Linked DNA regions of Homo sapiens: regions 2, 3, 4, 5, 6 and 7 are each linked to region 1. Evidence: promoter capture Hi-C in 16 types of primary human blood cells and fetal thymus (Javierre and others, 2016). All regions are on one chromosome and are shown on one strand. The core of a region is centred on a gene start or on the middle of the fragment in contact, and the rest is flanking DNA. Distances in the headings are between cores, read along the strand shown.

Region 1 (3,468 bases), core at 271-2,770:
TCTGCTTTGATCCATCTATTCTGAATTATTTTAATAAGGATAATAACAGCTAATATTTTCTTTGAACATTCACTACATGTCAAACCGTGTGCTAGGTGATTTACAAGCATCATCTCATTTAATTCTCACAACAACTCTGAGAACAGGTACTATATATTATTCCCACTTTACCCATAAGGAAACTGAGGCTCTGAGAAGATGAGTCATTTAAGATAATTCATCAGTTTGACTTCAGATCCCAAGATCTTAATCAGCAAACCTCTTCCTGGCATGTCGATTTTATTGGGATGGTTTTTAGAAAACATACATTTTATTGGGTCAAATGCAAAGTTTGCATTAAGAAGATAGAAGCTTTCAGATGCTTTGGGCTTTGTCCCAGAACCCTGGAAGACCTTTCACGCTCCTCTTTGATGACAAAACTGGAGAAGTATTGTTTAAGGATGTCTCCCCCTGCCATGCAAGTTCTCTGAAACCCTCAAGAACTAACAACAGAGTTTTCGAGCTCTGTTTTACAAATAAGGAACTTAAAGAACTGAACTTGCCCACGTTCACATTGCTAGGAGGTGACCCACTCACATTAAATCAGCTGTTTTGGCACCATGTTCCAATCAGCAACCCGCAGCACATCCCTGCCAACCCACAGATTTCCCACCGCTTTACCAGACAAGCCCTTTCACACCCACCGGCCCCAAACCAGCCCCTTCTCTCAGACCCATACCTTTTCTCTAGCACCTCTCCTTTACTTTTCCCAAGTTTCTTCCCTTTCCTTCAGTCACGCCCCGTTATCCCTAATCGGTCCTGCCCTTTCCCCACAGCTCCGCCCCTGCCTTACCAAGCCCCGCCTGCTCCCTTCAGCGTCGCATCGCTTTTTCCAACTTTGTTCTTTATTTCTAGTCCAGCTCCACTTTCCAGGCTCATCCAAAGCTCCGCCCTTTCTCTCGCGAGTACTCTTCTTCTGTTTAGCCCCACTTTTTACCCCGCTATTCTAACAGGCCCCCGCTGTGCGGTAGCCCCGCCCCCTCCCACAAGCCCCGCCCCACAGACCGGTCTAGTCTCCAGCCCCGCCCCGGTCCTACCCATAACTACCGGTCCCTTAGGCTCCAGCCCGCATCCCTCTTGCTCCCGGCCCTGCCCCCAGCCCCGCCCCGTGACTCTGGCCCCGCCTCACCGCCTTCCTCCGAGACCAAGGCCAGGTCCCTCCCGCAGCCGCGGCGCCAGCAGGAGGCAGGGAGCGGATAGGGAGGAGGCAGAGGGGGAGGGGAGAAGGGCGGGCTCCTCACGCCCAGCCCCGCGCTCACCGTCCGTGGTTGCAGATTCGCCACAAACCGCCCGACGACCCCAGATCCCGAGTACGGTGACTTCAGTCTCCAGAAACTCCACTCTAAGATGGGAGAGCTAGAGAAGCCCTGTGGGGTGTCCAGGGTCCTTTCTGAATCCCGGAGCACGGTCTTTCGAGCCTCAGCGGGCGGGCGGGGATCCGTGGCGAAAGTGCAGCTCAGTAGCGCCGCGGCGCCACGTTTACCCTGCGCAGACGCCGTCGCCGCCGCTGCTGCCGCCGCCGCTGCCACAGCCTTTGCCGCCACGGTCTCCGCCGCCGCTGTCCTCGCGCTGCCTCTGGGAGCCTCCATTGTTCCAGCAGCGCCCGGTCCCGAGACCGGGCATCTTGGGGGCTCGCGAAACGGGCGGCGGCCGACGGAGTTGAGACCCCAGGGCGCCGGCGGGACCAGGAGCGGCAGGGGTCAGCTCAGGAATCCCGGGGAGCCGGGACCAAAGCGTGGGGCGGCAGGGGGCCGGGGTGGCGAGGTCTACGGTCTCCGGAGTTGGGGCTCCCCCTTCCCGGCCCGACTTTCCCCGCCGACCTCCCCAAGTGGGGTCGGAGCCCCGGCGGGCGCCCCCGGCGATGAGCCCGGACTCGAGGTGGCCGGTGAGTGCGGGCCTGGGACCAGGGCGGGAGTGGCCGGCAGGGAAGGGGTAGGCTACGTTCGTGGGACGCGCACTGAGCCGCGTGGCCCGGGAACCTCTCTGGCAACTCCAGTTGGGAGAACTGACAGTGCATTGCTTCCCAGCAGGCATCCTGGGGCAACAGTGTATCTTTCGGGGCTGCCCGGGCTAGTGGCAGGCGGGGAGCCTTGTTTCACTTGTTACACTTCCACAAAGGGGAAACGCCGCCGCATCCGGAGAGTGGGCTGCGGGCACTGCCGGGGCCCAGCCCTATCCCTCCGGCCCCCGCCCCTTACTTCCTCCAGCCCCCTGAGCTTCAGGGGCAGATGCAGCCGCCATTCTCCTTGGGCCCTCCCCACGGGCTTTCTGGTCTAAGTTCTCGTCTCCCTCGCCTGTGCCTCTGCTGCCGGGTTCCAAGGGGAGATTGCTGATTCGCTGTGCTACTTTGGGAACCATTCACCCGGGACCCAGCTTGGAAAGAGGAGAGCTTGTTTGTGCTTCGGTTGGTTTATGTTTAAAGACACAGCCGCAGGTAGGAAATAGAAGAGTTGCAGTTGGACGTGTAGCGTTACTGATGTGAAAATCAGGAGCCGTTGACAGTGGAGCTGGAGCAGCCCACTTGCCTGGTTAAGGCACAGGTGGAGAGGCCAAGAGGGGTTATTTTGTCAGGGAGCTCATGATAGCCCTGCCTGGCTGGGATGGTGCCAAGCCCCTAGCTGAATGGTTGAACTCAACTAGGCCGAGAGAAATTGGGGCAGTCTCTGACCAAGCTGGGCTTCCTGAGGCCTGGTGCCATCTGCTGTCTACACTCACCCAGGAATGTTGGGGAGCGGGGAGGGAGGGCCCCTGCGGACCAGCATGGAGCTGAGCATGCCTAGATTGTCGCGTTCGTGTTTGTACCCTTAGGGCCTGGCACTTGGTAGTCACTCAGTTGATGTGTGAGTGGGTGAACAGCTCAAATGTAATACAAGCTGCTGTCACTGACTAAATGACCTCAGTTTTCACTTTGTTTCACAGTACATCTCCTACCCAGTACCAGGGCCAGGCTCCCCATAAAGACCTCAAAAGTAAATGAATTCTTTCTGTGATCCAGTGATTTCTGCAGGAGTCCAACGCTAAAGCATTAGCCACCCACCCATTCAGCTTTCTACATGGCCTTCATCCCATCTGAGCTCTCAGTCTGGTGATCCCCTCATTCAGCTATTCGTTCAACAGGTCATTCATTCGTTCGCCAAAAACTGAATGTCCAGTGCATGCTAGGTACTGGGGATACAGAGGTGGATAGGCTCTGGTACCCTTGCTACACAGCTCCCAGTCCAGGGGGGAGACAACTTTCAGTATGTCAAGTGCTGTGGTAGAGGTGAGAATGGAATGCTGTGGAAACAGCTCCCCATGGGAGAGTCAGAGAAGTTGTGTCAGAAGTGACATTTGAGCTGGTTTTTTGAAGAATGAGTAGGAGCCCACCAATCAGAAAGTATGGAGGGCATTCCAAATAGGGATCATTTTGCAGGAATGAGAGGTTATAAC
Region 2 (3,468 bases), core at 722-3,221, 480 kb after region 1:
TCCTGTCTGATTTTCCAGACCAGAGTCCATTTCTTTTCCCCAAGACCACAGGGATAAATAAACCCAACTAATAGCCCTCATGTGTCGCAGGAGCAGGCCTCAGGGATTCCCCCAAACTGAGAGGCCTGGGGGAGCCTCCTGAGCAAACCCCAGGCATTAAGTCAGATAGGAAACTCATGACTTGTGTGAGGCAAGCTCTGACCTCAGATTTACTGGGCACAGAAGGACCCTGTGTGCAGAGACAGCCCTGCCCTGTGGCCAGGCCTGGCAGCAGGATGGAACTCAAGTTAGTCTGGAGCAGCGGTTCCCAGTGTGGGGCCCACACCTGCAGTGGTACACAGAACCTGGGTGTTAGCACAAATATAGATCATGTGTAGAAGAACTAGGGACTTCATGGATATTACTGTTTAACACAAGGCTGAATACATAACACTGGAATTAAAGTTGGTTGAAAGAAAACCGTCAGGTGACTCATAGTGAGGTGGCACAGACATGGCCAAAAACTTGGAGACCGGATGAACATAACTGCAGTCTGAGGGATGCGGGCCAAGGGTACTGAGCTGAGGCCAAGAGAAGGCAGGGCAAGGGTGGAAGTGGCCATCACAGAGCAGCCTTTCTGCAGGACGGGGGCCCTGTGCTGGCCAGCAGAGGCCTCCATTAGTCCAGGTCCTTGGTGAGAGGCAGATACCAAGACAGGATAGGATTTCATCAACAAGATAGGATTTCATTAGGACAAATACTTGCAAGAAAATGCAGAGGGAGCTGGGCAAGGCTGGGAGAGCCTTGGGACCATGGTGCGCCATTTCCGAGGAAGGCTGGGTGGGCACTTGCTGGCCTGCCTTCGGTCTAAGGCAGACTCTCCAGGGTGTCCGTTGGCCATCACAGTCCTATCTGCCTAGTGTACCCTCTGCACACAGTGCCTGGGGAACAGCCCCTGGGAAGCATGGTCCGGATGCAGATGCAGGGATTGATTGGAGCCAGCCACAGCCAGGCCCGCAGATAGCCAGGCTCCCAGCAGCTGGGGGTCTCCAGCTCGCATTCTCCTGGCTGCTAGATTCACACAGCAGCAGGGCAAAGATCCCAGGAATGAGGCTGAGGGCAGCCCCTTGACAGGCTCCAGACCTTGTCTCAGGTGATTTCATGTTATCAGCTATCTGTGTGGGTTAATTGTTTAGCCAGGCTGATTTTACTTTCAGTCTCGTGAAATAAAATTTTTTGTTTTTTGTTTTTTGAGACTGAGTCTCGCTCTGTTGCCCAGGTTGGAGTGCAGTGGTATGATCTTGGCTCACTGCAACCTCTGCCTCCCAGGTTTAAGCGATTCTTGTGCCTCAGCCTCCTGAGTAGCTGGGCCTACAGGCATGTGCCACCATGCCCGGCTAATTTTTGTATTTTTAGTAGAGACAGGGTTTCACCATGTTGACCAGACTGGTCTCGAACTCCTGACCTCAGGTGATCCACCTGCCTCAGCCTCCCAAAGCGCTGGGATTACAGGTGTGAGCCACTGTGCTGGCCAAAACAAATTTTTTTTTTTTGATACAGTCTCGCTCTGTCCCCCAGGCTGGAGTGCAGTGGCACAGCTCAGCTCACGGCAACCTTTGCCTCCCTGGTTCAAGCAATTCTCCTGCCTTAGCCTCCCAAGTAGCTGGGATTACAGGCACTCGCCATCATGCCAGGCTAATTTTTGTATTTTTGTAGAGATGGGGTTTTACCATGTTGGCCAGGCTGGTCTTAAACTCTTTTTGTTTGTTTTTTTGTTTGTTTGTTTTGAAGTGGAGTCTCACTCTGTCACCCAGGCTGGAGTGCAGTGGCACAATCTTGGCTCATGGTCTTAAACTCTTAACCTCAGGTGATCCACCTGCCTCGGCCTCCCAAAGTGCTGGGATTACAAGCCTGAGCCACTGTGCCCAGGCCAAAATAAATTTTTTAATAGCCAAAGTTCCAGATGAGTCATTCCTTTCCTGATGTTGTAAGCCACAAATACCTGAAGCAGGTAGATTTATCCAGTAATCTTGGGGTCAAGTCCAGTTTCCTTTGGAAGGGTCAGGTCCCCAGTTACTCAGAAGCTGTCCTTGCCATGGGGCTTCCTAGGTATTTCCAGATGATGATGTTTGAAGCCTCTGGCCTTTGGCCAAGGCCTGCTTCTGTGCGGACCAGCCACCATGGCTCACCTCACCCACGGTCTGTGCCTGCGCCCACCGAGGAGCCCCCCTACCAGATGGCCTCATTAGTCTTCAGATTAATCTTCACATGGGGCCTAGTGAAGAAATTTCACCCTCTTTAACCTCACGTTTAAGTGACCCTAAACTACTTGTCAAACATTCCGTCTTGTGAATCTTGTTCACTCACTAAGGGATTGGGGCATAGACATGGCCAAGCATGGTGGCTCACGCCTATAATCCCAGCACTTTGGGAGGCCGAGGCAAGTGGATCACTTGAGGTCAGGAGTTCAAAACCAGCCTGGCCAACATGGTGAAACCCCATCTCTAATAAAAATACAAAAATTAGCCGGCATCATGGCGCACGCCTATAGTCCCAGCTACTTCGTAGGCTGAGGCAGGAGAATCGCTTGAACCTGGGAGGGGGAGTTTGCAGTGAGCTGAGATTGTGCCACTGCACTCCAGCCTGGGTGACAGAGTGAGACTCTGTTTCCAAAAAAAAAAAAAAAAAAAGAACATAGACACTGGAACCACTGATGACTGTGTGCCCCATGTGAAGATTAATCTGAAGACTAATGAGGCCGTCTGGTAGGGGGGCTCCTCGGTGGGCGCAGGCACAGACTGTGGGTGAGGTGGGCCATGGTGGCTGGTCCGCACAGAAGCAGGCCTTGGCCAAAGGCCAAGGCCCTTGGAAAAGTGACTTAACTTCTCCATGCCTCATTTCACCATCTGCAAAGAGGCAATGAAAATGGTGCAGTGGTACCTTATTTCCTGATTGGCATGAGGATTAGATGAGTTAACGCACGGGAAGGATTTTTTTTGAGACAGGGTCTCATTCTGCCTCCTAGGCTAGAGTGCAGTGGTGTGATCATGGCTCAATATAGCCTTGACCTCCTGGGCACAAGTGATCCTCATCCTCCCAAGTAGAGGGGACCACAGGTGTACACCACCATACCTGGCTATTAAAAAAAAATCTTTTGTAGGACTGAGCGCAGTGGCTCATGCCTGTAATCCCAGCACTTTGGGAAGCCAAGGTGGGCAGATCACGAGTTCAGGAGATCGAGACCATCCTGGCTAACACAGTGAAACCCCATCTCTACTAAAAATACAAAAAATTAGCTGGGTGTGGTGGCGGGCGCCTGTAGTCCCAGCTACTCGGGAGGCTGAGGCAGGAGAATGGTGTGAACCCGGGAGGCGGAGCTTGCAGTGAGCCGAGATTGTGCCACTGCACTCCAGCCTGGGCAACAGAGGGAGACTCCATCTCAAAAAAAAAAAAGAAAAAAAATCTTTTGTAGAAACGGGATCTTGTCAT
Region 3 (3,468 bases), core at 647-3,146, 460 kb after region 1:
ATGTATTTATTTATTTTTGAAATGGAGTTTCGCTCTTGTTGCCCAGGCTGGAGTGCAATAGCGCAATCTCGGCTCACCACAACCTCTGCCTCCCGGGTTCAAGCGATTCTCCTGCCTGAGCCTCCCGAGTAGCTGGGATTACAGGCATGCGCCACCACGCCCGGCTTATTTTGTATTTTTAGTAGAGACAGGGTTTCTCCATGTTGGTCAGGCTGGTCTCAAACTCCCGACCTCAGGTGATCCCCCTGCCTTGGCCTCCCAAAGTGCTGGGATTACGGGTGTGAACCACTGTGCCTGGCCTAATTTTTGTATTTTTAGTAGAGACAGGGTTTTGCCGTGTTGGCCAGGCTGGTCTTGAATCCCTGACCTCAGTGATCCACCCGCCTTGGCCTCCCAAAATATTGGGATTATAGGCATGAGCCACTGCGCCTGGCCTAAAAATACATTTGCTGAGTGCCTACTGTGCGCTAGATGCTGGGGATGCAACCATGAAAACACAGCCAAGGTCTCAGGCCTCATGGAGCTTACAGTCCAGTGGGAGATGAATTATAAGAAGCTAACACACAGATGCATGTCACCCACTGCAGTATGAGTGCTCAAAGGATAAATGTAGGTCAGGTGGGGAGGGCAGGTAGGAGAGTGCAAGATGAGAGGATTTGATCTCATCAGGGGAAGTTTCTCTGAGGCAGTGAAACTTGAGCCTCCTCCGTAAGGAATAGTGGACCAAGAAGTGAAGGACGACACACACATATCTAGCCGGGGGGAGCAGCATGTACAAAGGCCTGGGGGTGGGCTGAGGCTGGGGACAGGGCAGGGTCAGGCCACCCAGTGCCATGCAGGCTACCGCCAAGAGTTTGCTTTCACCGGAGAGTGAAGGGAAGACGTTGGAGGGCTTCCACCTGGGAGTATCCCCTGTTTTGGCCACTATATGGACTGGGGGGCTGGGCCTGTGAGGTTCCAGATGTCAACTGAGTAGGACAGGAAGACACTTCAGGAATCCGAAGGGATTTGGGAAGTGACCAAGGTTTTCTCTTCCCATCTGTTGCTACTATCTACCTGAAGTCTTGAGTTTCACAATTTTCATGCAGTTTCTTCTTGGTTGTGCAACTCTTGACAGTTTCTAACTTTGGGTTTGGCATCTCGGCCAGAGTCATTTCCTTCCTGGAGCTGGGCTCTCATTGAGTGGAAAATTTGGGGCTGCTATGTAAAATGAAACAGAAGAGAATGAACCCTTCCTCTCCGGAAGGGGCCGGGCTGTGCCAGGTCCAGACAGGGCTTGTGTGTCTGCTCTCTTGGAAGGCTGCCCTGCCTCCGCCCCTTTCCAGCTGCTAGGGCACAACAGAACATGCCTACATCCAGACCCTGCCCACTGCAGACTTGCCACTGGAGGCGACACTGTTTTGGGCCAAAACCACAGGCCAGGGGTCAGAGCACCTGGGTTCTAGTAATAGCTTGTGTTTAGCACCTGATATGTGCCAGGTAAGCATCTTTTCTCACAACTCTTATTATCCCTATTTTATAGAAGAGGAAACTGAGGCTCAGAGATTAAGTAATTTCCCAAGGCCACATAGCCCATAGTGATGAGGCCAACATGGGAATTCAGGTCTGCCTGACCTTACCCGCTTCTTGGTAGGTTACTAGATTGCATCATCACTTGCCCCATCTGGAAAATGGGTAAAGACATTGCCCTATCTACTTTTCTTGTAGACTGGGAAGGTTCAAAGCATACGAGATGGTGAGGTTTTCTTTGTTTCTTTTTTTTTTTTTTTTTGTGAGACAGAGTCTCACTCTGTTGTCCAGGCTGAAGTGCAGTGGCATGAGCTTGGCTCACTGCAACCTCTGCCTCGTGGACTCAAGCAATTATCCTGCCTCAGCCTCCCGAGTAGCTGGGACTACTGGCGCCCACCACCACGCCCAGCTAGAGGTTTTCTTAAAGTTAATTGCTGAGTGGCTAAGGACAGGTCACTTGACCTTTTCCTTCCATGCATTCATTATTCCATTGGAAAAAAGCAAGGCTTTAATCACTGTTGGTCTCTTGAGAGTGGTGTTAGAATGAACAGAGTGTGGAATGCCTCTAAGCCAGTCCCCAGTGTTTCAGAGAGGAAGGGTAAGAGCTAGGGTGAAGTGAACCATCCTTTATTGAACTCCTGCTAGATGCTTAGCTCTTACAACTAGTCTCCTCCAGTTGCAAGTTTTGGACACATACTCAGATGATGCATTAGCCAGGATAGGCTTGGTTATGCTGCGGTATCAGATAAACCTTGAAATCTAGTTCCTCAACGCAACAAATATTGATTTCCCACTCACCTGAAGTCCAGTAAGGGTCATGCAGCCTCCTGCATTCTTGTAGCCAGCTAAGTCATCTAGAACATGTGGCTTCCAAAGTCACTGTGGCTGGGGAAGAGAGGGTTGGAAGAGGCTCACTAGCTGTTAAGTGCTTCGTCCAGGAAGTGATAGATAGCATCTTCACTTAAAATCCACTGGCTAGGCCGGGCGCGGTGGCTCAAGCCTGTAATCCCAGCACTTTGGGAGGCCGAGGCCGGCGGATCACAAGGTCAGGAGATCGAGACCATCCTGGCTAACATGGTGATACCCCGTCTCTACTAAAAATAAAAAAAAATTAGCTGGGCGTGGTGGCGGGTGCCTGTAGTCCCAGCTACTCAAGAGGCTGAGGCAGGAGAATTGCTTGAACCCGGGAGGCGGAGCTTGCAGTGAGCCGAGATCGCGCCACTGCACTCCAGCCTGGGCAACAGAGCGAGAATCTGTCTCAAAAAAAAAAAAATCCACTGGCTAGAACCAGTCGTGACGCCCAGCCTAATTGCTAAGGAGGCAGGAGTATGAGACAGAGCAGATGGTTATTTGGTAAGTACTCTCTCAGCTACAGGTTACCTCAGTTCCAGGGCGCTTACAGTAAGGTTCTGCCTAACTGTGGCCTACAAGGCCCTGCATGGTCTACCTTTGCCCGGCTCTTCAACCTCACCTCTACCACTTTCCCCCTCAGTCATTCCCCTCAGCCACTACGGTCATCCTTCACTTGCGGGGATATGCCAAGTGTTTGCTGCCTAAGGACCTTTGCACACGTGTTCCCTCTCCTTGGAATGCTGTCTCTCCCCAGCTTCCCTACATTCTTCCATGCTAGTCCTTTTCATCCTCTGGGTGTCTGCATATGTGGCCCCTTCTCATGGCAGCTTTTCCTGGCCAGCCTATGGAAGTAGGTCCATCAGGCACCCCTCCCTCGAGTTTGTTTTCAGCATAGAGCACCTCCCAGTTTATAATTAGATGTCTTTTATTTAACTAGCTTAATGTCAGTATTACGGCAGTTTTGATAAAGGATTCCCCATTCCCTAACACAAAATGAATGAATGAATGAATGAGAAAGAATGAGTCATTTCAGCAGCAGGTGGAGTACAAGTTCAGTGGAGAACCAGGGATCGCACAATTAGGAAGGCAGGCTGTGCTCTCAGGTTT
Region 4 (3,468 bases), core at 481-2,980, 430 kb after region 1:
CAAAGTGCTGGGGTTATAGGTGGGAGCCGCCGCACCCAGCCCCTTATACCCTATTTAATAATCCAGTTTGTCCTGCAGTCCCCTGCACCATACTCTGCTTTTTTCCCAGTAATAGTATCATCTAAGATAATGCAATTGGCCACTTGCACTCCCTTTTACCACCCTCTACTTTTATTCTTTCTTTTCTTTCTTTTTTTTTTTTTTTTTTTCAGAGACAGGGTCTCATTCTGTCACTCAGGCTGCAGTGCAGTCATAGCTCACTGCAGCCTCAAACTCCTGGGTTCAAGAGATCCTACCACCTTAGCCTCCTGAGTAGCTGGGACTATAGGTGTACACTACCATGCTTGGCTCATTTTAAAATTTTTTGTAGAGGCCAGGCGTGGTGGCTCATGCCTGTAATCCTAGCACTTTGGGAGGCCGAGGCAGGCGGATCACGAGGTCAGGAGTTCAAGACCATCCTGGCCAACACAGTGAAACCCTGTCTCTACTAAAAATACAAAAATTAGCTGGGCGTGGTGGCGCGTGCCTGTAATCCCAGCTACTCGGGAGACTGAGGCAGGAGAATTGCTTGAACCGGGACCTGGGAGGCAGAGGCTGCAGTGAGCCAAGATTGCGCCACTGCACTCCAGCCTGGGCTACAGAGCAAGACTCCGTCTCAAAAAAAAAAAGTTTTTTGTAGAGATAAGATCTTCCTATGTTGCCCAGGCTTCTACTTTCATTCTCCAACATAGCTTATCTGCCTATTTTTATTGCTTGTTGTCTGTCTCCCTCCAGGACAAGGATTTTGTCCTTCTCTTCAGAGGTATTCCCAGCACCTACAACAGTGCCTGGCACATAGTAGCTGCACGATACATATTAGCTACTATAGTAAAGTCTACCTGACTACCCTATTTAATAGAATATTCCCCATGCTCAATCTGAATTCCTGATTCCCTTTAACCAACTTTTTTTCCTTTTTTTTTTTTTTTGCAATAGTGCTTATTACCTTTAAGACACTCTGTAACATACTATATTTATTATTTATTGTTAGTCTTTCTCTCCACACCTAGATTGTAAGTCTTATGAAAGCAAGGGCTTTTGTAGGCTTTTTTTTTTTTTTTTTTTTTTTTTTGAGACAGAGCCTCACTCTTCACCCAGGCTGGAGTACAAGGGCACAATCTGGGCTTACTGCAACCTCCGCCTCCAGGGTTCAAGCGATTCTTCTGCCTCAGCCTCCCAGGTAGCTGGGACTACAGGCGTGCGCCACCGTGCCCGGCTAATTTTTGTATTTTTAGTAGTGACGGGGTTTCACCATATTGGCCAGGCTAGTCTCGAACTCCTGACCTCGTGATCCGTCCGCCTCGGCCTCCCAAAGTACTGGGATTACAGGAGTGATCCACCGCGCCCGGCTGTAGGGTTTCTTATTCAGGTATTACCAACACCTAGGGAGTTGCCTGGCATACAGTAGGTAATTAATGGAGTATTTGATGAGCGCATGATGCATGGTGTAGTGCCGATGGAAGTGGGGTCAGAAGGCCTCCTGCCGCTGCGGCAGAATTCCCGTGTGGCCTTCTCCCACCAGGGCCTCAGTTTCCCCTCGCAGTTCCGATTCTCTGGCCGGCGCTGGGGTGGAGCCGGCGGGGCCGTCGTGCCGCCCGTGGCCGCTGGGGACGCTGGTGCCCTCCCGCCCCGCCCACTTCCCCGCCGGTCCGCCCCTGGCTAGAGAAGCCGCAGCCCGCAGTGTCCGACCCAGTCGTCCCGCGCCGGAGCCGGCCCCGTAGCGTGCCATGGCCTGCTACATCTACCAGCTGCCCTCCTGGGTGCTGGACGACCTGTGCCGCAACATGGACGCGCTCAGCGAGTGGGACTGGATGGAGTTCGGTGAGTGCGGCCCGGGGAGGGGAGGGGACCAGGGCGACCGGAGCCCCCAGCGATCCCGCCTGGAGCGGCCGCCAAGCTCCCTCGGGCACCCGGGTTCAGCGGGTCCCGATCCGAGGGCGTGCGAGCTGAGCCTCCTGGACCGGGTCCGCCGCGGACCTCGGCCTGTCACCTGAAGGTGCCGCGTGGTCTCTGAGGACGTCTGTCGACGAGCAGGGGCCGCCGCCACTGCGCTCTGAGTCCAGAGAACGGTGGGTACGGGGGCCCTCCTGTCAGCGCTGCTGGCTCGGTGACGTCCCCAGGTGGCCTCTCATCCAGCCCACAACAGCCTGCAAAGTGCGAGCCTCGACCCTGTAGGGACCCACGGTGCTGTCACTTCTTGGGGGGGTGTGTGTGTGTGTGTGTGTGGTGTGTTTAGTTTTAGTGTATATTAGAAGGATCTATGATTTAACATATATATATATATTGAAACGGAGTTTCGCTGTTGTTGCCCAGGCTGGAGTGCAATGGCACGGTCTCGGCTCACTGCAACCTCCACCTCTGGGATTCAAGCGATTTTCCTGCCTCGGCCTCCCGAGTAGCTGGGATTACAGGCGCCCGCTACCACCCTGGCTAATTTTTTGTATTTTCAGTAGAGACCGGGTTTCACCATGTTGGCCAGACTGGTCTTGAACTATTTTTTTTTTTTTTTTTTTTTTTTTTTAAGACGGAGTCTCACTCTGTCGCCCAGGCTGGAGTGCAGTGGCGCGATCTAGGCTCGTTGCAAGCTCCGCCTCCCGGGTTCACGCCATTCTCCTGCCTCAGCCTTCTGAGTAGCTGGGACTACAGGCGCCCGCCACCACGCCCGGCTAACTTTGTATTCTTAGTAGAGACGGGGTTTCACCGTGTTAGCCAGGATGGTCTGGATCTCCTGACCTTGTGATCCGCCCACCCTGGGCCTCCCAAAGTGCTGGGATTACAGGCATGAGCCACCGCGCCCGGCCTCCGGAACTCTTGATCTCAGGCGATCCACCTGCTTCGGCCTCCCAAAGTGCTGGGATTACAGGCGTGAGCCACTGTGCCCAGCCTATTTATCATATTTGTGATTAAATGTACTTTACCATTATAGTTTTAAAATCAGATATTTACTTTTAGTGTACATTGTTTTGATCACAGTATTTATGACTATCAACCTGTTTTGAGATCAGATGTGTCCTAATAGATTCAGTGTGTATAATGGGGCCTAAGCACAAGCACTTACTTTCACTCTATTGCAAGGTGCACAGTTCTAGATAATTCCGTGGGAAGGCACTCAGACAGCCTCCATATGTTTTGTTTGTTGGTGCCTGACGGATGACTGGCGGAGAGGGCCATGGACTCTGCGGGGAGGCCGCTTGCCTGTTGTCTCTGCTTTCCAGGTGGAGATCTGCATTCCAGGCTCTTGCTGTATGACTTTGGGCCAGTTTGTTAACCTCTCTGAGCCTCAGCTTCTGAATCTGTATGTAAACTGGAGATGATAATTATAGCTTCTTCATAAAGTTGTGAGGAATGAAAATACTGTATAAAAGCACTGACACCTAAGTGTTAAATATTCTTATAAGTCATAAGTTGTAATATTCTCTTTTCATTTTT
Region 5 (3,286 bases), core at 787-3,286, 420 kb after region 1:
GGCTCTTAAGAGACAAGCGAAATTAAAGTATCATATCATAGGTTAGTTTTGTAGAATTGTAGAATTACGAATGCCTTTTGTTTCCCTGGCCAAATTGTGCCCTGGAGTTCCAGGAGAACAATGTGTAGAGCATGAGATATTTTGGCTTATTTGTTGCTGACTTCTAATTTTTTTTATTTTTTTGAGACAGAATCTCGCTGTGTTAGCTAGGCTGGAGTGCAGTGGCGCAATCTCGGCTCACTGCAACCTCCGCCTACTGGGTTCCAGTGATTCTCTTGTCTCAGCCTCCCGAGTAGCTGGGACTACAGGCGTGTGCCACCCACTCTGATAATTTTTTGTATTTTTAGTAGAGACGGGGTTTCACCGTGTTAGCCAGGATGGTCTCCATCTCCTGACCTCATGATCTGCCCGCCTACGCCTCCCAAAGTGCTGGGATTACAGGCATCAGCCACAGCACCTGGCCTATGTATTTTCAATTTAACACAATCAAGCTCACAGTGCCAATCAGAGGTGTTTTTTTTTTTTTTATTTTTATTTTTAGAGAGTCTCACAGTGTCATCCAGGCTGGAGTGCAGTGGTGCGATTTCAGCTCACTGCAACCTCTGCATCCTGGGTTCAAGTGATTCTCCTGCCTCAGCCTCCTGGGTAGCTGGGGTTATAGGTGCCTGTCACCACACCTGGCTAATTTTTGTATTTTTAGTAGAGATGAGGTTTCACCATGTTGGCCAGGCTGATCTTGAACTCCTGACCTCAGGTGATCTGCCCACCTCAGCCTCCCAAAGTGCTGGGATTACAGGCGTGAGCCACTGCGTCCAGCCTGTTTTTTTTTTTTTTTAAATCATTGAAGATTGGTATAATACTTCACTATTTGTTTGAAGCTCAAATGATTTTATCAGGGTAAACCCTAATAAACTGATGTTCCTGTGGGTAAAAAAAACCTCACTAAAGACCAGCAGTGTGTGGTGGCTCCTGCCTGTAATCATGCCTGTAATTCCAGCACTTAGGGAGGCTATGGCGGGAGGGTCGCTTGAGACCAGGAGTTCTTGACCAGCCTGGACAACAAAGTGAGACCCCAGCTCCACAAAAAAATTTTTTTTTAATTACCTGGGCATCTTAGCATATGCCTGTGGTCACAGCTATTTGGGAGGCTTAGGTGGGAGGATCCCTTGAGCCCAGGAGTTTGAGGCTGCAGTGAGCCATGATCATACCACTGCACTCCAGCCCAGGTGACAGAGTGAGATCCTGTCTCAAAAAAAGAAAAAAAAAACTCAAAAACCCCCCAAATACATGGGTTTCATAGGATTCAAACTACTATGTGTGTATAGATCCTGTTTTAAGGAAGTAGATATATAAAAATGAGCATTGCTAAGTTAAATTTGGTAAATTTGCCTTATAGAATACCCTCGAGTACGTTTCCAGTGAGTGTAAAATAGGAATTGGGATACCCAATTCAGTTGTACTAGATTTTCTTTTTTTTTTTTTTTTTGAGACGGAGTCTCGCTCTGTCGCCCAGGCTGGAGTGCAGTGGCGGGATCTCGGCTCACTGCAAGCTCCGCCTCCCGGGTTCACGCCATTCTCCTGCCTCAGCCTCCCAAGTAGCTGGGACTACAGGCGCCCGCCACTACGCCCGGCTAATTTTTTGTATTTTTAGTAGAGACGGGGTTTCACCGTTTTAGCCGGGATGGTCTCGATCTCCTGACCTCGTGATCCGCCCGCCTCGGCCTCCCAAAGTGCTGGGATTACAGGCGTGAGCCACCGCGCCCGGCCTAGATTTTCTAAGTACACATTGTTTTGGTTATGTGTTTTGTGACTACCACCCCAAAACTAATAACCACCTTTTTTTTTTTTTTGAGACAGAGTCTCACTGTGTCACCCAGGCTGGAGTGCAGTGGCGTGTGATCTTGGCTCACTGCAACCTCTGCCTCTCGGGTTCAAGCGATTCTCCTGCTTCAGCAGCTGGGACTACAGGTGTGCACCACCAAGCCTGGCTAATTTTTTGCATTTTAGTGGAGACGGGGGTTTCACCATGTTGACCAGGCTGATCTTGAACTCTTGAGCTCAGGCAGTCTGCCTGCCTCAGCCTCCTAAAGTGCTAGGATTACAGGCGTGAGCCACTGCGCCCAGCCCACCATTTTATTTGTTCATAATTCTGTAGTCCAGGCTGGGCTCAGCTAGGCAGTTACTCTGCTGGTGGTAGTCGTTGGTGTGGCTGCCTTTTGCTGGCAGCTGGGGGCTGGGCCTGTCCCTCTTTTTTTTTTTTCTCTTTTCTTTTTTCTTTTTTTTCAAGATAGGGTCTCACTCTGTCACCCAGGTTGGAGTGCAGTGGCATGATCTTAGCTCACTGCAACCTCTGCCTCCAGGGCTCAAGTGATCCTCCCACCTCAGCCTCCCCAGTCGCTGGGACCACAGGCATGTGCCACCATGCCTGGCTAATTTTTTGTGTATTTTGTAGAGACGGGGTTTCGCCATGTTGCCAGGCTGGTCTCGAACTCCTGAGCTCAGGCGATCTACTGACGTTGGCCTCCCAAAGTGTTGGGATCACAGGCATGAACCACCATGCCTGGCCAGGGCCTGTTCCTCTTTATGTGGTCTCTCTAGCAGGGTAGCTCAGGGCTTTCAAAAGTATAAAAGCAGAAGTCAGCAGGCCTTTTTAAGGCTTCGGCCTAGAATTGCCAGTGTCGCTTCATCCACATTCAGTTAGTTAAAGCAATCACAAGCCCAGCCCATTTCAAGGTGAAATTACTACAGAGGCATGAACACCATGAGGTGTCCATAGGGGGCCATCAGCATAACACACTGCCACATACATGCACTCACTTTTTTTCTTTAACCTAAAGTGAGATCCATCAGTAGTACAGGTAGTTGTTGGCAAAGCCTCTTGTTCGTTCCTTGTACTGAGACCCTAGTCTGCCACTGAGGATTTGGTTTTTGCCCTTCCAGTGTATACTCTGAAAGAGCGATGCCTCCAGGTTGTCCGGAGCCTAGTCAAGCCTGAGAATTACAGGAGACTGGACATCGTCAGGTCGCTCTACGAAGATCTGGAAGACCACCCAAATGTGCAGAAAGACCTGGAGCGGCTGACACAGGAGCGCATTGCACATCAACGGATGGGAGATTGAAGATTTCTGTTGAAACTTACACTGTTTCATCTCAGCTTTTGATGGTACTGATGAGTCTTGATCTAGATACAGGACTGGTTCCTTCCTTAGTTTCAAAGTGTCTCATTCTCAGAGTAAAATAGGCACCATTGCTTAAAAGAAAGTTAACTGACTTCACTAGGCATTGT
Region 6 (3,468 bases), core at 651-3,150, 370 kb before region 1:
CTCTCATTGGCTCTCTGACCTTGTGCGGAACGCGTCCTTTAGCTGACCTCAGCTGCATTTTTTAGAAGATGGAGATTGTATTCACAGTGACTGTCAGCTTTTTAACGGCGGGAACTGACGTAGTGTTAAACACTGTCGTGTATCGCTGGCACAGCACAAGGACATTATAGGTATTCTGTACTCAATTAAGTTATTTTGAGTCACAGACCTTTTGAAAATCTCGTGTAAGCTATGGCCCCTCCACCTCTCTAATACTTCCCCCGGCCCCCACCCCAAGCACACACAAAAGCTTATGCATAGGAAATTTGTTTTACTATTTCGGATTACTTCCAAGATCTCTCTCCTGATGCCCATCTATGGATCCCAGAGTCTGGCAAGTAGTAGGCGTTTGAACATTTGTAATCATTAGATAGTAAGTATTCAGTTAACCATTTTTATTTTTAATTTTTTCTTTTTTTTTTTTTTTTTTTTTGAGACAGGGCCTCACTGTGTCACCCAGGCTGGAGTGCAGTCCTCCCACCTCAGCCTCCCAAGTAGCTGGACTCCAGGCGCCCACCACCACGCCCAGCTATTTTTTGTGTTTTTGGTAGAGATGAGATTTTGCCATCTTACGCAGATTGGTCTCGAACTCTTGGCCTCAAGCAATCTACTCACCTCAGCTCCCTAAAGTGCTGGGATTACAGGCATGAGCCAGTGTGCCCAGCCCAGTTAATCATTTTTAAATGCATGAAATGCTATTTCACAGGAGGGAAGAAGATAGATAGCCTATTAATAAGTTTTAATTATTGGCCTAACCAGGTACTACTCTCACTTGTCTCCTAACGACTCTAGGAAAGAGGTATTACTAATTACTTAATTACATTTGAAGGTTTGGGAGAATTAATTTGCCATAAGTCATTCAACCTATGATGGTGGAGGCAAGAATTCAAACCTGTATCTATCTGAAACTCCAAAAGCCCCATATTATTATTATTATTATTATTTATTTTATTTATTTATTTATTTTTTTGAGACAGAGTCTTGTTCTGTTACCCCAGCCGGAGTGCAGTGGCATGATCTCAGCTCACTGCAATCTCCACCTCCCGGATTCAAGCAATTCTCCTCCCTCAGCCTCCCAAGTAGCTGGGATTACAGGCTCCCACCACCACACCTGGCTAATGTTTGTATTTTTAGTAGAGACGGGGTTTCACCATGTGGGCCAGGCTGGTCTTGAACTCCTGACCTCAGGCAATCTGCCCGCCTCGGCCTCCCAAAGTGCTGGGATTACAGGTGTGAGCCACCACGCCCAGCCAAGCCCTATATTCTTAACTAACCATGTTCTTAACATCTAGATGCAGAAATGGATTTGAATGTGATCTGCAGTTTCTGTCGTAGTTATGAAATGGCTTTTGTCAACATGGGTTACCCCAAAGCAAACATTGCATGCTATGGAAATACTTCTTGTCTCTTTTTCTCCCATGGTATCTGTATTGCTTCTTTAATAATAACATCATGTTTTACAGCCTGCACTCTGTGCCCATGTTTATTCAACCCTTTTTACTTTGGTGACTGTTTATCAGATGTGTTGCCTTGTTCTTCCTGCCCTCCAGAGCCCATGTTTTTAATTATAACTGAAATATGAGATGATAATATTTGGGCTTTATTTCTTTTTCTTTTAAAGGACAGTACTGCTTTTAAAGAGACAGTGTTAGGGATCTTGGAAGCACAGCCAACATGTGTGACATTGAAGAAGCCACTAACCAACTCCTAGATGTGAACCTTCATGAGAACCAGAAGTCTGTACAAGTGACAGAAAGTGACCTCGGAAGTGAATCTGAGCTTCTAGTCACTATTGGAGCCACTGTACCTACTGGCTTTGAGCAAACAGCTGCAGATGAAGTCAGAGAGAAACTTGGGTCATCATGCAAAATCAGCAGAGACCGTGGCAAGATATATTTTGTCATTTCAGTGGAAAGTCTGGCACAGGTTTGAATGGAGCAATATTTAAAATAGTTTTCTAAGTTGATCATTTTATGGTTACTTTTCATTTTATAGACCCTTCTGGAATCCTTTCTGATTTTCATTGCTCTGCCCCAAATCAGGTGATTTTAAAGTTACTGCATTTTCTATTGAGTACTGATTTGTAATTTTGACTGTAGTTTCAGTATCCCTTAGGACCAAAAGTGTTTCAGATTTTTGGAGGGGGGTGGGGGGAGTTTTGGAATATTTGCATTATACTTGCCAGTTGAGCATTTCTTTTTTTTTTCTTTTTCTTTGAGACAGAGTCTTGCTCTGTCATCAGGCTGGAGTGCAATGGCGCGATCTTGGCTCACTGCAACCTCCGCCTCCCAGGTTCAAGCAATTCTCCTGCCTCAGCCTCCCCAGTAGCTGGGACTACAGGCGCCCGCCACCGCATCTGGCTAATTTTTGTATATTTAGTAGAAACGGGGTTTCACCATCCTGGCCAGGCTGGTCTCGAACTCCTAACCCCGTGATCCACCCGCCTCGACCTCCCAAAGTGCTGGGATTACAGGCCTGAGCCACTGCGCTCGGCCTGCCAGTTGAGCATTTCTAATCTGAAAATCCGAAATGCTGCACTGAGCATTTCCTTTCAGCATTGTGTTGGGGCTCAAAAAGTTTCAGATTTTTAGATGTGGGCTGCTCAACCTGTAGTAGGATTGCTACATTTTTAGAGGTGATCTAGTATTTCTTGAGGATTGAATTCACCAGAAAGAATACTGTTCAACTTAAGAAATTCTCTAAGTATCTCAGTATTTATTTACTTCAGCATATAGCAGATGTTTAACCTTTGGTGATGAAACATAAAAGAGATTTTCCTTTTAATTTGCATCAAAAATTCTTGCTCAGAAGTAATTAGGACTCACTCAAGGTAAAAAGTGAAGGTCAGAAAACTGCAATCTCACTATCATAAAGCTGATATATCTCATTACCACATAAGCAGTGAGAGGGCAAGGATTGTTGTCTATTTTTTTTTCCACCAATATATCCCACGCTCTTAGTGTCTGGCATATAGTAGGTACCCAGAAAATATCTGTGGGATGAATTGGTAAGCAAATGTTTTCCATCCAATATTTTAGCCAATACCCTCAGCAGCTTTGTGAAGATAGGCACTATTATTATCCTCATTAATCATTAGGCTTAGGACACATAAATAATTTCCCCAGGGCCACTCAGCTAGTAATCACAGAACTGGAGCTCAAATCCCCTGCTTTTAACCATTGCAGCATACAGTGTACCCTAGAAAGTCATCGAGGAAATATGATACAGCCCACCTGAGTGGCTTCACCTTTCTCTTCTCCCACAAAAGACGTGTTGCCCACAAAACACTTCATGCTTCTCTCTTTCCATCTGCCCTTTTTCCCTTTCTCTAGGGGAAAGCTGATTAGTAACCAAAGAGATGAGAAACTAGGGAGATGGGACATTTTAAAAATACAAAATATAGTTAGTAGCTGCTTTAAAACTATCATT
Region 7 (3,468 bases), core at 535-3,034, 350 kb before region 1:
ACTATTATTTTTTTGACCTGGGGTCTTGCTCTGTCAGCCAGGCTGGAGTGCAGTGGTGTAATCTCAGCTCCCTGCAACCTCTGCCTCCCTGTCTTAAGCCATTCTCCCACCTCAGCCTCTCGAGTAGCTGAGACTCAGGTGCACACCATCACACCCAGCTGATTTTTGTGTTTTTGTAGAGATGGGCTTTCACCATGTTCCCAGGCTGGTCTCAAACTCCTGGGCTCAAGAAATCCTCCTGCCTCAGCTTCCCAAAGTGCTGGGATTTCAGGTGTGAGCCACCATGCCCGGCCGGAAATAGCATTTTATTTTGCAATTTTCAAATATATCAGATTATGTAAACTCCCACAACCACAAATCTCAAATATTTTCAAACCGCATTAACTTAGAATTTAGTGTGCCAGACACTGCTGGATGAGGAACTGAATAAAATACTAGACCTGACCTCAGAGAGCTCCCAGGTTAGTTGAGAGGCATAAAGGGGAAGAAATAATTAACCGTGGGACAAGTGCAGTGGCAGAGGTACGTACATACAAAGTGTTTTTGGGAGGGGCACATAAGACTGCTTGGAGAGTTAAGGTTGATGTTGAAAGGGCATGAGGTTTGAGCTGGGTCTTAAGAGATGGGTAGAGGTTCAGCAAGCAGAGAAAGAATAAGAGGGCATTTTCAGCCAGGGAAATAGCACAGTTGACAACATGCAATGTTTTGCCACTCTAGAAAAGCACTGGATTTTCTTTGTTTGTTGACAATTTAATCATATTTTACAGTTTGCTACTTTTGTTTTAACATACACTCTTATCTTTTAGGGGGCCACTGAATGGTCTGACTGTTTCCATATTGCTGGTGATAATAATCCACTGGCTGTGAATAGAGCAGCAAATAACATTGCATCTTTATTGACCAAGAGCCAAATTAAAGAAGGGTAAAAATTTAAAAGATTTCTTAGCATCTTTTAGAGTTAGAGAATCACTTTTTATATTGACTTTATGAATTAAAACTCCCAGTGCATTGTGACGTCATTGTAACCAAAATGAATATACTATGAGACTCCATTTACATTTTTAAAGTTTATTGAAAATAAGTTATATTTTTAAAATATTATTTTAGCGATAATTTCCCCACCATATGCAATTTTTCATTTGTCTTATTCATATGTCTTTTCCCCTACATATTGGAAGAATATTTTATAGACTCATTTTAATTTCACAAAATTTTAAACAGTATATTTTTACATAGGCTTCTTTTTTGCTTTGGGTACAGGGTCTCATTTTGTCACCCAGGCTGGAGTGCAGTGACATGATCATGGCTCACTGTAGCCTCAACCTACTGAGCTCAAGCAATCCTCCTGCCTTGGCCTCCCTAGTAGCTAGGAATACAGGCATGTGCCACCATGCCCAGCTAATTTTTTAAAATCTTCGTAGAGATGGGGGTCTTGCTGTTTTGTCCAGGCTGGTGTCAAACTCCTGGCCTCAAGAGATTCTGCCGCTTCAGCCTTCCAAATTGCTGGGATTAGAGACGAGTCACCACACCTGGACCATAGTCTTTAAAGTCACTACATAAATTCCATCGTATAGAAATACTGCAGTTTATATAGCCTCGCCTCTATTTTATTACTAAGTCATTGGTTATATATTTCATTGTCTCTCTGATCTAATTTTTTAGGACAGTGCTTCTCAAACATTAATGTACATGTGAATCACCTAGGAGTACTGTTAACACAGATCTGATTTAGTAGTTTGGGATGGGACCTAAGAGTCTGCATTTTCCAGGAAACTCCAGGACAATGCTGATGCTGCTGGTCTATGTATCAACATTAAATCCTTTTACGTGTATTAAGACAAGTAGTTGGAAGGCTTCAATTTTCTTAAATACTGATTTATTGTGATGAATTAATTTTGAATGGTTGTTTCATATTTATTGAGGGTTTTTTTTAATGAGCCTAGTATATGGCCAGTCTTTTTTTTTTTTAATTAAAACTGATAAACATTTAAACAAACGTACCTTTCTAGCTTCTGAATATTTTATCTTGTTTGTACCTACACTGTCTGTTCAACCCGTACTTTTTTTTTTTTTTTTTTTTTTTTTTTTTTTTTTTTTTTTTGAGACGGAGTCTCACTCTGTCGCCCAGGCTGGAGTGCAGTGGCTTGATCTCGGCTCACTGCAAGCTCCGCCTCCCGGGTTCACGCCATTCTCCTGCCTCAGCCTCCCAAGTAGCTGGGACTACAGGCACCCGCCACCATGCCCGGCTTATTTTTTTTTTGTATTTTTAGTAGAGACGGGTTTTCACCATGTTAGCCAGGATGGTCTCAATCTCCTGACCTCATGATCTGCCCACCTTGGCCTCCCAAAGTGCTGGGATTACAGGCATGAGCCACTGTGCCCGGCCTCAACCTGTACATTTCTATCCATTTTACTTTGGTTTTTAATATTTTTTGCCTTTTGTTTTGTGCAGTTATTGGTATGCGGTTATAATACATATTTTATGTGTACTTTTAAAAATTATGTAATGATTGCTTTTATTGCATTTTTTTCTTAAATTCTTCATTAAATGTCAATTAAATCCTTAATTTCTGCTGATAACCTTTGACTTATCTTCAGTTCTTAGCCTGTGCATTATTTTGTTTCTTAAACCAGTTGCTTTGCCTTAATGAGGAGGATTTAAATCCTTTGTATTTATTATTATTCATTCTGTCTTCTGTCATCTATATTTTTTATCTTAACTTTTTTCTTAGTCTTGTTTTATATAGCATGGCACATATTTTCCTTTTGGTTTTTCATCTTGAAACAATTACCTATATATTTGCCAATTTTACTATCTGTTTTTCTTTTAGGCCTCCTGTTATTACTAGTTTTACAAACTTTATTCTTCAGATACATCACCCCATTATCTATTCTTTAGTATTGTTTTTCTCCAGTGTATGTTTTATCAGCAACTTAAATTTTTGTATCATCGGTTATGTAATTTACTGCTTCAGCATTGTTTTTAAAGTTGTCTTTTGCAGTTCTCTGCATTACAATCATGTTTTCAGTTTGTTTCCCTTTTTTCTGAGACGGGGGTCTTGCTCTGTCACCCAGGCTGGAGTAAAGCGGCACAATCCTAGCTCACTGCATCTTTCAACTCCTGGACTCAAGTGATCCTCCCACCTCAGCCTCCTGAGTAGCTGGGACTATAGGTGTGTGCCATCATGCCCTGCTAACTTCTTAAAAAAGTATTTTAGAGACAAGGTCTCACAGTGTTGCTCAGCTGGTCTCAAATTCCTGGAGTCCAGTGATCCTCCCACCTCAGCCCCTGAAAGTGCTGATTATAGGCACAAGCTACCATGCCCAGCCTGACCTATTTTTTACCTTTGTGCCATTTCTTAAATTTTGAATAGGTTGATATTATCACTGATATCCTTAGCAGTTTATGTTTTGCTGTAGCAGTCTCTCTTCAGAAACAAAAATTGTTGTAATAACTTTATGCTTCAC

What was found. The method cuts DNA at HindIII sites, captures the fragments that hold promoters and counts their contacts. A CHiCAGO score of 5 or more calls a contact.
Region 2: a fragment that was not itself captured here is called in contact with the fragment with the promoter of BRPF1 in region 1 in 1 of 17 cell types (monocytes); the score reaches 5.4 in monocytes.
Region 3: a fragment that was not itself captured here is called in contact with the fragment with the promoter of BRPF1 in region 1 in 4 of 17 cell types (naive B cells, monocytes, total CD8 T cells and 1 more); the score reaches 6.4 in naive B cells.
Region 4: a contact is called between the fragment with the promoter of IRAK2 here and the fragment with the promoter of BRPF1 in region 1, in 1 of 17 cell types (monocytes). The highest score is 6.2, in monocytes.
Region 5: a fragment that was not itself captured here is called in contact with the fragment with the promoter of BRPF1 in region 1 in 2 of 17 cell types (monocytes and neutrophils); the score reaches 8.1 in monocytes.
Region 6: a contact is called between a fragment that was not itself captured here and the fragment with the promoter of BRPF1 in region 1, in 9 of 17 cell types (fetal thymus, total CD8 T cells, naive CD4 T cells and 6 more). The highest score is 10.4, in fetal thymus.
Region 7: a contact is called between a fragment that was not itself captured here and the fragment with the promoter of BRPF1 in region 1, in 6 of 17 cell types (naive CD8 T cells, naive CD4 T cells, total B cells and 3 more). The highest score is 5.7, in naive CD8 T cells.

Annotation. Positions count from the first base shown.
Region 1 is chr3:9,730,215-9,733,682 of GRCh38, forward strand. BRPF1 (bromodomain and PHD finger containing 1) reads left to right here and starts at 1,521. Exons shown (of 14, transcript NM_001003694.2): 1 at 1,521-1,924. RefSeq lists enhancers at 957-1,516, 2,077-2,636 and silencers at 980-1,339, 1,810-1,859, 1,870-1,999. The HindIII fragment of the contact is 5,381 bases long and covers 350-3,468 here.
Region 2 is chr3:10,205,343-10,208,810 of GRCh38, forward strand. All of the region lies in intron 3 of IRAK2 (interleukin 1 receptor associated kinase 2), which reads left to right. Among named protein-coding and RNA genes, the nearest start is that of TATDN2, 41 kb to the right of the region's middle. The HindIII fragment of the contact is 5,031 bases long and covers 1-3,468 here.
Region 3 is chr3:10,188,526-10,191,993 of GRCh38, forward strand. All of the region lies in intron 2 of IRAK2 (interleukin 1 receptor associated kinase 2), which reads left to right. Among named protein-coding and RNA genes, the nearest start is that of IRAK2, 25 kb to the left of the region's middle. RefSeq lists an enhancer at 1,078-1,157. The HindIII fragment of the contact is 8,152 bases long and covers 1-3,468 here.
Region 4 is chr3:10,163,189-10,166,656 of GRCh38, forward strand. IRAK2 (interleukin 1 receptor associated kinase 2) reads left to right here and starts at 1,731. Exons shown (of 13, transcript NM_001570.4): 1 at 1,731-1,860. The coding sequence starts at 1,767. RefSeq lists silencers at 1,566-1,695, 1,896-2,045. The HindIII fragment of the contact is 5,632 bases long and covers 1-3,468 here.
Region 5 is chr3:10,146,847-10,150,132 of GRCh38, forward strand. It overlaps VHL (von Hippel-Lindau tumor suppressor), which reads left to right. Exons shown (of 3, transcript NM_000551.4): 3 at 2,941-3,286. The coding sequence ends at 3,119. Among named protein-coding and RNA genes, the nearest start is that of VHL, 6.7 kb to the left of the region's middle. The HindIII fragment of the contact is 5,547 bases long and covers 1-3,286 here.
Region 6 is chr3:9,363,356-9,366,823 of GRCh38, forward strand. It overlaps THUMPD3 (THUMP domain 3 tRNA guanosine methyltransferase), which reads left to right. Exons shown (of 10, transcript NM_001114092.2): 2 at 1,661-1,965. The coding sequence starts at 1,714. Among named protein-coding and RNA genes, the nearest start is that of THUMPD3, 2.0 kb to the left of the region's middle. RefSeq lists enhancers at 1-68, 89-148. The HindIII fragment of the contact is 3,227 bases long and covers 288-3,468 here.
Region 7 is chr3:9,379,697-9,383,164 of GRCh38, forward strand. THUMPD3 (THUMP domain 3 tRNA guanosine methyltransferase) reads left to right here. Exons shown (of 10, transcript NM_001114092.2): 7 at 807-922. Among named protein-coding and RNA genes, the nearest start is that of THUMPD3-AS1, 15 kb to the right of the region's middle. The HindIII fragment of the contact is 6,287 bases long and covers 1-3,468 here.